Linked DNA regions of Homo sapiens: region 1 is linked to region 2. The links are contacts of gene promoters, found by promoter capture Hi-C in human tissues and cell types (Jung and others, 2019). All regions are on one chromosome and are shown on one strand. Each heading gives the region's core, a stretch centred on a gene start or on the middle of the fragment in contact. The rest is flanking DNA. Distances are from core to core; before and after follow the strand shown. Region 1 overlaps ANO10 (anoctamin 10). Region 2 holds the start of POMGNT2 (protein O-linked mannose N-acetylglucosaminyltransferase 2 (beta 1,4-)).

What was found. The method cuts DNA at HindIII sites, captures the fragments that hold promoters and counts their contacts. A contact is called where the count stands out against the background at its distance.
Region 1: a contact is called between a fragment that was not itself captured here and the fragment with the promoter of POMGNT2 in region 2, in 1 of the 25 tissues and cell types used here (hippocampus).

What each region holds. Positions count from the first base shown.
Region 1 is chr3:43,442,277-43,447,112 of GRCh38, forward strand. All of the region lies in intron 11 of ANO10 (anoctamin 10), which reads right to left. Among named protein-coding and RNA genes, the nearest start is that of SNRK-AS1, 93 kb to the left of the region's middle. The HindIII fragment of the contact is 5,138 bases long and covers 401-4,836 here.
Region 2 is chr3:43,104,279-43,109,685 of GRCh38, forward strand. It overlaps POMGNT2 (protein O-linked mannose N-acetylglucosaminyltransferase 2 (beta 1,4-)), which reads right to left and starts at 1,801. Exons shown (of 2, transcript NM_032806.6): 1 at 1,558-1,801. RefSeq lists a silencer at 1,569-1,888. The HindIII fragment of the contact is 11,007 bases long and covers 1-5,407 here.

The DNA.
Region 1 (4,836 bases), core at 1,720-4,219, 340 kb after region 2:
TCTACACACATACACACACACACACCCATTAGAACTAATAAATGAACTCAGCAGAATTGTAGAATACAAAATCAACACACAAAAATCAGTTACATTTCTATATACTAACAATGAACAATTTGAAAAGGAAATTGAGAACTCAATCATTTTTACAATAGCATCAAAAAGAATAAAAATACTAAAATACTTAGGGATAAATGTAACCAAGGAGATGAAAAGCGTGTACACTGAGACCACAAAACATTGCCACAAGAAATTGAATAAGACACAAATAAATGAAAAGACATTCTGTGTTCATGTGCTGTATTAGAACACTTAATATTGTTAAAACGTGTATATCACCCAAAGTGATCTATAGATTCAATGCAGTTTCTAACACAAAAGATTCTTAATCTCCAACAGGGTCAGCAAACTTCTTAAAAGGCCACGGAATAAATATTTTAGCCACACAGTCTCTGTCACAATTACTCAACTCTGCCATTCCTTGCAACATGAAAAGCAGAATATATAAACAAATGGGTGCAGCTGGGTGCCAATATAACTTTAATAATAGGCGGCAGGAGGATTTGGTCCTTTGGCTGGGGTTTGCCATCCTTTGGTATAGATTGTATAGAAAGACTGAAAACTCTATTTAATCAGTTAATTAACTCATATGAATTTGTTAAAAGATGAGAAAGCATCACAAAATGTGTGCCTCAATAACATAATGACTAGGACTCTTCTCTGGAGTTTAAAAGGAATTCTCTGGCAGTGTCTTCAGGCCCTATGCCCTGGTGGTCACCCTGAGAAGACGTCTTCAGGGCAGGGCTGTGTCTATGACCCAGCTCACCTTGCTCCACTCCAACCAAGCTCCATTCCTAGTGTGCTGAGGATCCACACAGGGAATGACAGGGAACCACTAATATCACAAAAGGCCTAGGCCTCTGGGCTGCCTGCATGGGTGACTTTCCAAGATCAGTCGAGTGAACAAGGAGTTGGTCTTAAAAGATGTACAGCAAACCCTTGAAGCTTTGCTGAAAAAACAACTCACAAAAAGCAGATTAACAGGAGAAAAGATGTGATATGGATTCAGTTAATGAGAACTCAGGGAAGTGACCAGCAGTTAATTGTTTTCTTCTTTGGTAGGTCTGGACTTTAGGCAGACAAGGGAACTTTAGAGAATCTAATGCTTTGGGAGAGACAGTATGGGGGAGATCAGGGAGACCTTGAGGCTCCCTTTTCAGTTCAGCATGTCAAAGTGCAGTATTTGGGGGTATTGGTTTCTGAGTCTCAATAAATATTAATAGCTGGAATCTAAAAGAAGTATACAGGGAAAAAAGGGAATATGTTAGAAGAGTCAAAACAATGAGAGAGGGAGAACTGCTCAGTATGAAAGCATGAAAAGTATTTTACTTCCTTCCTTCTTTTTTTTTTTTTTTTTTTTGACGGAGTTTCACTCTTGTTGCCCAGGCTGGAGTGCAATGGCACAGTCTCGGCTCACTGCAACCTCCACCTTCCAGGTTCCAACGATTCTCCTGCCTCAGCCTCCTGAGTAGCTGGGATTACAGGCATGCACCACCACGCCTGGCTAATTTTTTTGTATTTTTAGTAGAGACGGGTTTCACCATGTTGGCCAGGCGGGTCTCGAACTCCTGACCTCAAGTGATCCACCTGCCTCGGCCTCCCAAAGTGCTGGGATTACAGGCATGAGTCACTGCACCCGGATCCTTCTCTATTTCATCATTTAATAGAAAAGGTGATTGGGGGAAATATCAATTAGACCAAATTAATGCAAGAAAATAATCTAAAGGGTTACAGACAAATTAAATCATGTGTCTCATTGGCTCTTCTCTCTTAAAATATAATCTCCATTGTAGGGACCTGCTAATCAAGAGGCTTGTTGTAGTTGAGGGACACTGAATGATGGGGTTGTCATTTGTCCCTAGGGTGAGAAAGCTGGCTTTCAAGGCTTTGGCATGCCCTGTGTCACCAAAGAACACATCTTATACAGCTTAAAGCAATTTACATGTGTTAAAGTTTGTTTTCCTCTCATTCAGAGCCACATTTCATGCACAAAGCAGTTTCTAGAGCAGATCTGATGATGGTGAAAGGAAATAAAATCTGTAAGAGGGTTATGTGTGATTTGGAGCTTGCTTTGTTTTTTCAACAATTATTTTGATCACTTGACAAGTAAAAAAACCAAGGAACATATAAAAACTGTGTGCCCAGAAATATTCTCTAACTAAGGCCTACAAAGCAAAGTGATATCTTAAGATTATGATTTCATTCTACTATATACTTACTTCATTTACTTTAATTGTATCAAGTGAGAATTTAAGTCACAATAGAGAAATACACACTTGTAAACCTTAAACTGTTAGCTATAAGGCAGATGTGGTACCGCAGGGGCCACAGGAAAGTGGGTGGCTCTACAACAGTGCAAGGAGAACACACAATCGACCTCCTGTGGTCACCTGACACAGTCATGGCGAGGACGGCAGGGTGCAGGACACTCCAGGTGGCCTAAATATATGTCAGAGTTAGAATAAAAAGCAAGGCTCAACTATGTTAACTGCAAGAAATCCATCTTAAATAGAGGGATTCAGGTTAAAAGTTAAGAGATGCTGGGAGGCCAAGGCGGGCGGATCACTAGGTCAGGAGATCGAGACCATCCTGGCTAACACGGTGAAACCCCGTCTCTACTAAAAATACAAAAAATTAGCCAGGCCTGGTGACAGGTGCCTATAGTCCCAGCTACTCCGTGGGCTGAGGCAGGAAAATGGCATGAACCCGGGAGGAGGAGCTTGCAGTGAGCTGAGATTGCACCACTGCACTCCAGCCTGGGCTACAGAGTGAGACTTTGCCTCAAAAAAAAAAAAAAAAAAAAAAGTTAAGAGATGCACACAGATCTTGGTTTCTAATACCATTGTCCAAAACAAAGGAACCAGAGCTCCTTGGAAAAATGGCTGAGTCTAGGACCGCAGCAGGAAATATACAAGATGAGTCTTATCAGATAAAAACTAAGGAAATCTGAATAAAGCATGAACTTTAGTTAATAATATTAATAGTTGTTCACTAATTATAACAAGTGTACCATACCAGTGTTAGATGTTAAAAGTAGGGGAAACTAGCTATGGTGTATATGGGAACTATCAGTTCTAGCTTGTTAACTTTTCTGTAATCTAAAACTATCTTAAAATTAAAAACTTTATTTTAAAAAGACTTTTACTTTATCATATATATTTATCCCAAAATCACAGGTAAAACAATGAATAATTAAACTAGGATTCCAAACAAACCATCTAAAAACAACTCAGCAAAATCTGCTAAACCAGTTCTCAGGTTAAGGGTGAATATCCTGAAAATGACCTACATCTCCCAAATCTATGACCATGTTTCCTTACATTAGAAATATCATTGCCTACAACACAGGCAATGCATTTTTTTTTTGTATTTTTTGTTTTTGAGACGGGGTCTCACTCTGTCACCCAGGCTGTGTAGTGGCACTATCTCAGCTCACTACAACCTCTGCTTGCCGAGCTCAAGTGATCTTCCCACCTCAGCCTCCAGAGTAGCTGGGACTACAGGTGTGCACCACCATACCCAGCTAATATTTGTATTTTTTGTAGAGACGGGGTTTTGCCATGTTGCCCAGGCTGGTCTTGAACTCCTGAGCTCAAGCAATCTTCCCACAGCCTCCCAAAGAGCTGGGATTACAGAACACCAAACCCAGCCTTTGTTCTGTCAGGAGCTGTCCAAACACTGATGAGAGTAAAGACAAGAAGCCTGGCGGAGAGAGAAACGTATAGATATCACTGTGTGTAGAATTCTTAGAGTGGGTGATCACTTTGTGACCTCCACTGTCATCAGCTTCGGGGCCCAGGGTTCATGTCCCACATTTTATTGTGCCTTAGGGCCTAACAGAGCATGTGGATTCAGGAAGGAATGCTTCCCATCTTCTACTTCTCAGATTGCATTTAAATTTACTCCTTGTTGAACTTATCAGCAATAACTCAAGCTTCTCAGGTTTTGCTTTAATGTAACCTTTGATATCTTTGTCAGAGCAAGGGAAGTGGGAAAAATGTACAGAGGCAGTGGATATAGAAGAAAGGGGATGAAAGAAGTAAAGCCAACTGGCAAGTCTTTGCTCTGAGAGAGAGCAACTTCATACAATTGAACAGAGAGTTTGTAACAAAAAAGAGTTACAACTTTTTATAACTGCATATTTTTTTCAAAGATAACATTTTCTGTTCTCCGCTGATATATTTTCTTGAAGAAAATACTGGTTTATGGTTTATTACTTGTTATGTTCTTAAGATATGCTTGAGGCACACTACTGTCAGAAAAGTAAGGAGAAATTTGAACTACTTCTTTGAGAAAGTCAGGTTTTCACTAGGGAGACCCTCTCAGTTACAAAGTGACAATAACAATCAATTTTAACAACTCAGAACTTGCCATACCGAAAACACTCGAGGGAAGATGAATATTCATAGGTAGATAAAAATAATTTTTAAGGTTTAACAACAGCAAAAGCGATTTATCCTAGCTATTCTGAATTTATTATTAAAAAATGTATATACCTATATCTTTTTGAACTATAGTTTGAAGGTAATACAGTCACATGGTTAGGAAAAAAGGTATAAAGTGATACCCCTACCCCTGCCCTCATCTTCCCAATGCCCCACTGTGCCTCCTGCCCACATGTACAATCAGAATATATTAATATTTTCTCCATGTTTATATAAAAGGAGCATACAGAAATACTGTTCAGCATTTTCCTTTTTTGTATTTCCTAATATTAGAGATCTTTCCATATTAGTACCTAGACAGCACCCATACTTTATCGACCAGTGATGG
Region 2 (5,407 bases), core at 551-3,050:
TGGGGGGAAAGTATCCCACTGACAACCAAGCTGAGATTGGCAAGGACCCTTGGAATGGGGGATTTGGTAATCTAATTTTCTAGTTAGTGCAATATTTACTAGAAGGCTTTGTTTATTGCTAAATATTTTCTAAAGCAAGGCTCAGAGCAAGAACTTGCCAACTAGCATGCTTACATGGCCACGGTGGGCCCAGCCACCAGCACCATGCCCTCCTTTCTGCTGAAGATCTCCACTCTCCTTCTCGTTCTCGCAGGGGCCCAAGGCTCAGGAAGGAACGTGCTGACCACCCCTGGGGATGAGGGGACCTATGCTCTTTCCTAGCTCTGCAGGGACTGAGATTCCTCAAAATTAATATTGAAAGGATGAGCTGGAAGATCTGCAAGATTCATGAGAGCCAGAGAGGGCAGCTAGTACCATTAAAGATGAACCTGGACTCCAAGCACCTCTAACACTTTCTGTCGTTAGTCACCACGACTGCTGATATTTGCCACACACTTACTGTTAGACATACTGGGCTGAGGACTTGCCTGGCACTATTTCATCCCCACTGCAACCCCGTGATAAAGGCACTGTACTTTCATCTCCACTTCACAGAGAAAGAAACAGAGGCTAAGAGAGGATAAGTGACTTGCTTAAACGCACACCGCTAGTAGCCGAGAACCAAGATTTGAAGGCGGGGCACATATTGTAGTAAACATTTGGTGAATGAAACCTCCTCTGTCTATGCTCTTAGCTACTAAGTCCTATCAAGCTCGCCCCATAACCCTGAAGTCATCCTTTTCCACGCGGAGCCTTGCTTCTCCCAAGAGTACGCTCTAAGTGTTGGCTGGCAATAAAGTAGGCAGACACTGGTCGCCCTGCACCTGGTGCAAGACTCTGGCCTGACGGTCACATACTTTAGCAGAGAGTTCCCATCAGTGAGCTGGAGACGGGTTCCTAAACACACACATGGAGTCAGGAGTTCACTGGGTTCCTTCTTCAGAGGCTACTCTGGCACTGCCAAGCAGGCCGTGGCAAGCTCTTACCACCGGACACACATGGTAGGTGCCCTACTGGCCCCCAAAGCGCCCAGGAATCAGCTGCAGGCCTGCCGGGGTTCTGCCTTCAAAGGCAGTTGGGGAGGCCCAGGCCCGCTCCGCGCACCTCGCGTGGCTCCCCACCACCCCCGCCAAATGTGCACCACCCATCACCTCCCAAAGCAAAAGGGCCTGAGGACCCGACGCCAGTGCCTGCCACGAGCTGAGGGCTCGAACTGGCAAGCCCCAGGGCGTTGCCCAGGTCCCCGGCCCCCGGCCCCCGACCCCCAATCCCCGGCCCCCGACCCTGAGGGTCCACCCCCGCCCCGCCCACCTCCCGCGCCTCCCTCAGCTCGCTTCACACGTCACCCCTCAGTTCTGCAAACTCTCCTGGATCCCGAAGGCGTCCTAGAACCTCCCCCTCACCCCGGGGCCCAGCACCGCGTCGTCCCCTCCAGGGGGCCGAGGGTTCGACACCTCCACTTCAAGTCCCAGGCGGGTGTCGGAGTCCGCTCCAGCCCCAAGCGCGCGCGCGTCTTACCTGAAGCCTGGACTCCGCGGGACGAAGCCACCTCCGCCGACGCGTCCAGGAGGCCCCACGGCGGCGCCGCTTTCCCACCCCGCCGCCGCCCCCAGCGCCAGCTTCTGGCCCAGGAGGCCCAGAAGGCCCAGGCAGCCAGCACAGGTTTGGCCGCGCCGCCGGGTTCGCAGCGACCGCCACCTCCAGGCTCGCAGGTGTCCGCCGTGCGCCTGCCCGGCGGGCGAGCCCGGCGCGGAGCCTGTGCGCCTGCGCAGAGCCGCGAGTTCGGTTGCCCTGGCCCCGGCCACAACCTTGGCTCGCGGAATCCTGGGAGGTGTAGTTTTGCGTACGAGGACAGCCCGCGCCGCCACCAGCCTGCGGAATGTTGGGAGTGATAATTTGCGCCGAGAGGCTGAGTTTTACTTAGTGTTAGGATTACACAGTTATGGCAGTTCTGATAATAAATTTAAATGCAAGTTTAACCAACAACCAAATGTCATTGTAAAGTCAAGGTAATTAATACGTTTACATGCTTTTAAAAATTGTAATGCTACAGAGAACTTACAAAAGCACCAGTCCTCTGCGGCACCATTCCATTAACCAGCTGTCACCTTATCCCACCGTCCAGTCCTGGCTGTCCAGTCCTCAAGGGCAGCTACTTATGGCTGTGGCATCTGGCATTCCCGCGGATTCTCCGAATATACATATGCCCCTATTTCTTGAGTTATGAATTTTAGATCTTTTGACTTCTTTTTTAGATCTCTTGACTTTTTTTGAACTTAAGTCATCTAGAGATGCACCTACCACCACCAACTCCACCTCCATAGAGTTATAAGATTTCTACCTATCAAATTGGGAAAGCCCTGACTTTAATTTATGATTATTTTAAATTAGCCCAAATGTTAAGGTATTAAGTTGGTAAATTTTTGCAGGGCAATTTGTCAATACAGCCAAAAACCTTTAAAAACATGTAGTCAAAAGCCTCTAACCAAGAAATTCTAATAATTGTGGATGACTGCAAAGGCTGAATAGTGTTGTTTAGATGATAATAAACTGAAAGGCTGAAGTGGTGATATTACTTTCAGAGAGAGTAGAATTGACAGCAAGGAAAATTACCAAGAATAAAAAAGGGATAATTATATAATGATAAAAGGTTCAATTCACCAAGAAGACATAATTCTAAATGTGGATACACCTAACGACATAGCCTTAACATAAATAAATCAAATGATAGAACCATAATTAGAAATAGACAACTCTGCAACTGTAATTGGAAACTTCAGCATCCCTCTCTCAACAACTGATAGAACACTAGACAGAAAGTCAGCAAGGATATAGAAAAGATCAACACTAATACCATCCTAATCTAATTGATATTTACATAATACTTCACCCACCAACAGAATACACATTCTTTTCAAGCAACCTTGGTATATATATTAAGATAAACTGTATCCTGGATCATAAGTTTTTAAATATACAGAAGACATTAATATATATTTTACCAAAGTAGTTATACAGATGGCAAATAAGGACAGATGTTCATCACTAGCCATAAAGGAAATGCAAATTAAGACTATGCTGAGATATCACCATACACCTATTTAAAACAGCTTAAAAAGGCAGGGCGCGGTGGCTCATGCCTGTAATGCCAGCACTTTGGGAGGCCATGGCTGGCGAATCACGAGGTCAGGAGTTCAAGACCAGCCTGGCCAACATGGTGAAACCTCGTCTCTACTAAAAATACAAAAATTAGCTGGATGTGTTGGTGCGCGTCTGTAAACCCGGCTACTCAGGAGGCTGAGGCAGGGGAGAATCACTTGAACCCAGGAGGCGGAGGTTGCAGTGAACCGAGATCGCGCCACTGCACTCCAGTCTGGGCTACAGAGCAAGACTCCATCTCAAAAACAAACAAACAACAACAACAACTACAAAACAGCTTAAAAAATAAAATAGCAAATGCTGGTGAGTATGCACAGAACTGGATCTCTCATATATTACTCACAGATGGGTATATCATGGTAGTTTCTTTTAAAAAACTAAACATATGCTTCCCATATGACTCATCAATCACACTCCTGAGCATCTATTCCAGAGAAATGGAAACTTATGTTAACACACAAACTTGTACACAATTGTTCCTACTTTCTTTATTTGTAATTGTCAAAAACTGTCAACAAACAAAATGCCCCTCGATAGGTGAATGGTTAAATAAACTGTGATTACATCTATATAAAGAATATCATTCAACAATAGAAAGGCACAATTGACACATGCCACAACTTGGGCATTATGCTGGGTGAAAAAAAGTCAGTCTCAAAAGGTTACATACTCTGGTTGCCATTTGTATAACATTCTTGAAATGACAAAACTATAGAGATGGAGAAAATATTAGTGGTTGTCAGAGGTTGAAGACAGGGTGTAGGTGTGAATATATAAGGGTAACAGAAGGGAAGCCTTTGTACTGATGAAATAGTTCTTTGTCTTGATTGTGGTAGTGGTTACACAAATCTACACATGTGATAAAATGACTAAAACTACACACAAACTTTCTATCAAGGTTAAATTCCTGATTTTTATATTGTATTATAATTACGTACAATGTAACCATTGGGGGAAACTGGATGAAGAGATTCCTCTCTGTACTATCTTATTATAGATTTTCACAAATCTATAATTATTTCAAGATAAAAAGTAGGAAAAAAAACAAATTTGGAAACTGCTTAATTCCTCAGTCATGCAGGATTAAGTAAAATCACAGATCATCTCAGAAATCATTGAAAAGATGCTGCAAAATAGTATTTACTTAATAGAGTGGAAGACATTTCACATTATATCATATTTAATGAAAAAAGTATAAAATATTCCATAAGATCCCATTTTTAAAAAGAATATATTTGTGCACAGTAACAGCACAGAGCACAGAAGGATATCAGCAAAATTTCAATGAGCCATGACCCAGGGTGGTAAGACTATGGGTGTTTTTTTATTGTCATCTTGCTGGTTACCTGTATGAATTTATTCTGAAGTGAACATATATTGTTTTGTTATTTTAAATATAAGTTGTTTAAAAAACTTCTAAGTTTTAAAAAGCTCCTATGTTGAGTTTATGGGTCTCTATAAGATAGCCAGTCATAGTCACTGATAGAAAGAGGCACCTAACAGTCCAAGAGAGCAGCCCCTTGCTGGAGGTGGACAGGGATTGGGTTCTGGCCAAAGCTGAATCTCCTGGATAGGATCTAACAGGATGGCCTGTAAGTCACCTAGGACCCAGTTTGCAGACACTGATCATCTTTGAGTCCATCATGTTTTGAAAACTATTCTGGCTGTGGAGCATTGCTGGTAGGAAGCTTTAGTAGACTGGAAAAAACTAGTACATTTCTTTTTATTAAATATCCAAGGTGGCTTAGGTAGCTGGCTTTTTGAGGTCTTTCCCAGCATTTTAAATCCATATTCATGCATGCCAAGCTGAGTTAGGCATTCCTCAAGTCCAAGCCCTCTCCCTTTGTCTGGGGTCATATTCCCTTTCTATTTCTCTGTGTGGATGCCTTCCAAACCCACATCTCTAGCCCTGAATTCCAGATCCACATTCCCAATCCAAGTTGCTTGGGGCATACACACCTCCACCTGGCTGGCCTGCTAGGATCTTAAAATCTGCATGATGAACATGGTGGTGATGGTAAAGATTGGGATGGTTTTTAAATATGTCTGCAAATTATTTGACTATTTTTCCTTTGAAAGGGGGAGTCTAGTTCCCTTCCCTCAAATATGGGCATAACTTAGTAACTCACTTCAATGAACAGAAAATGTCAGAAGTGATGCTATGTGACTTCTGAAACTGGGTCATAAAAGTGGTACATCCTCTCTCTGT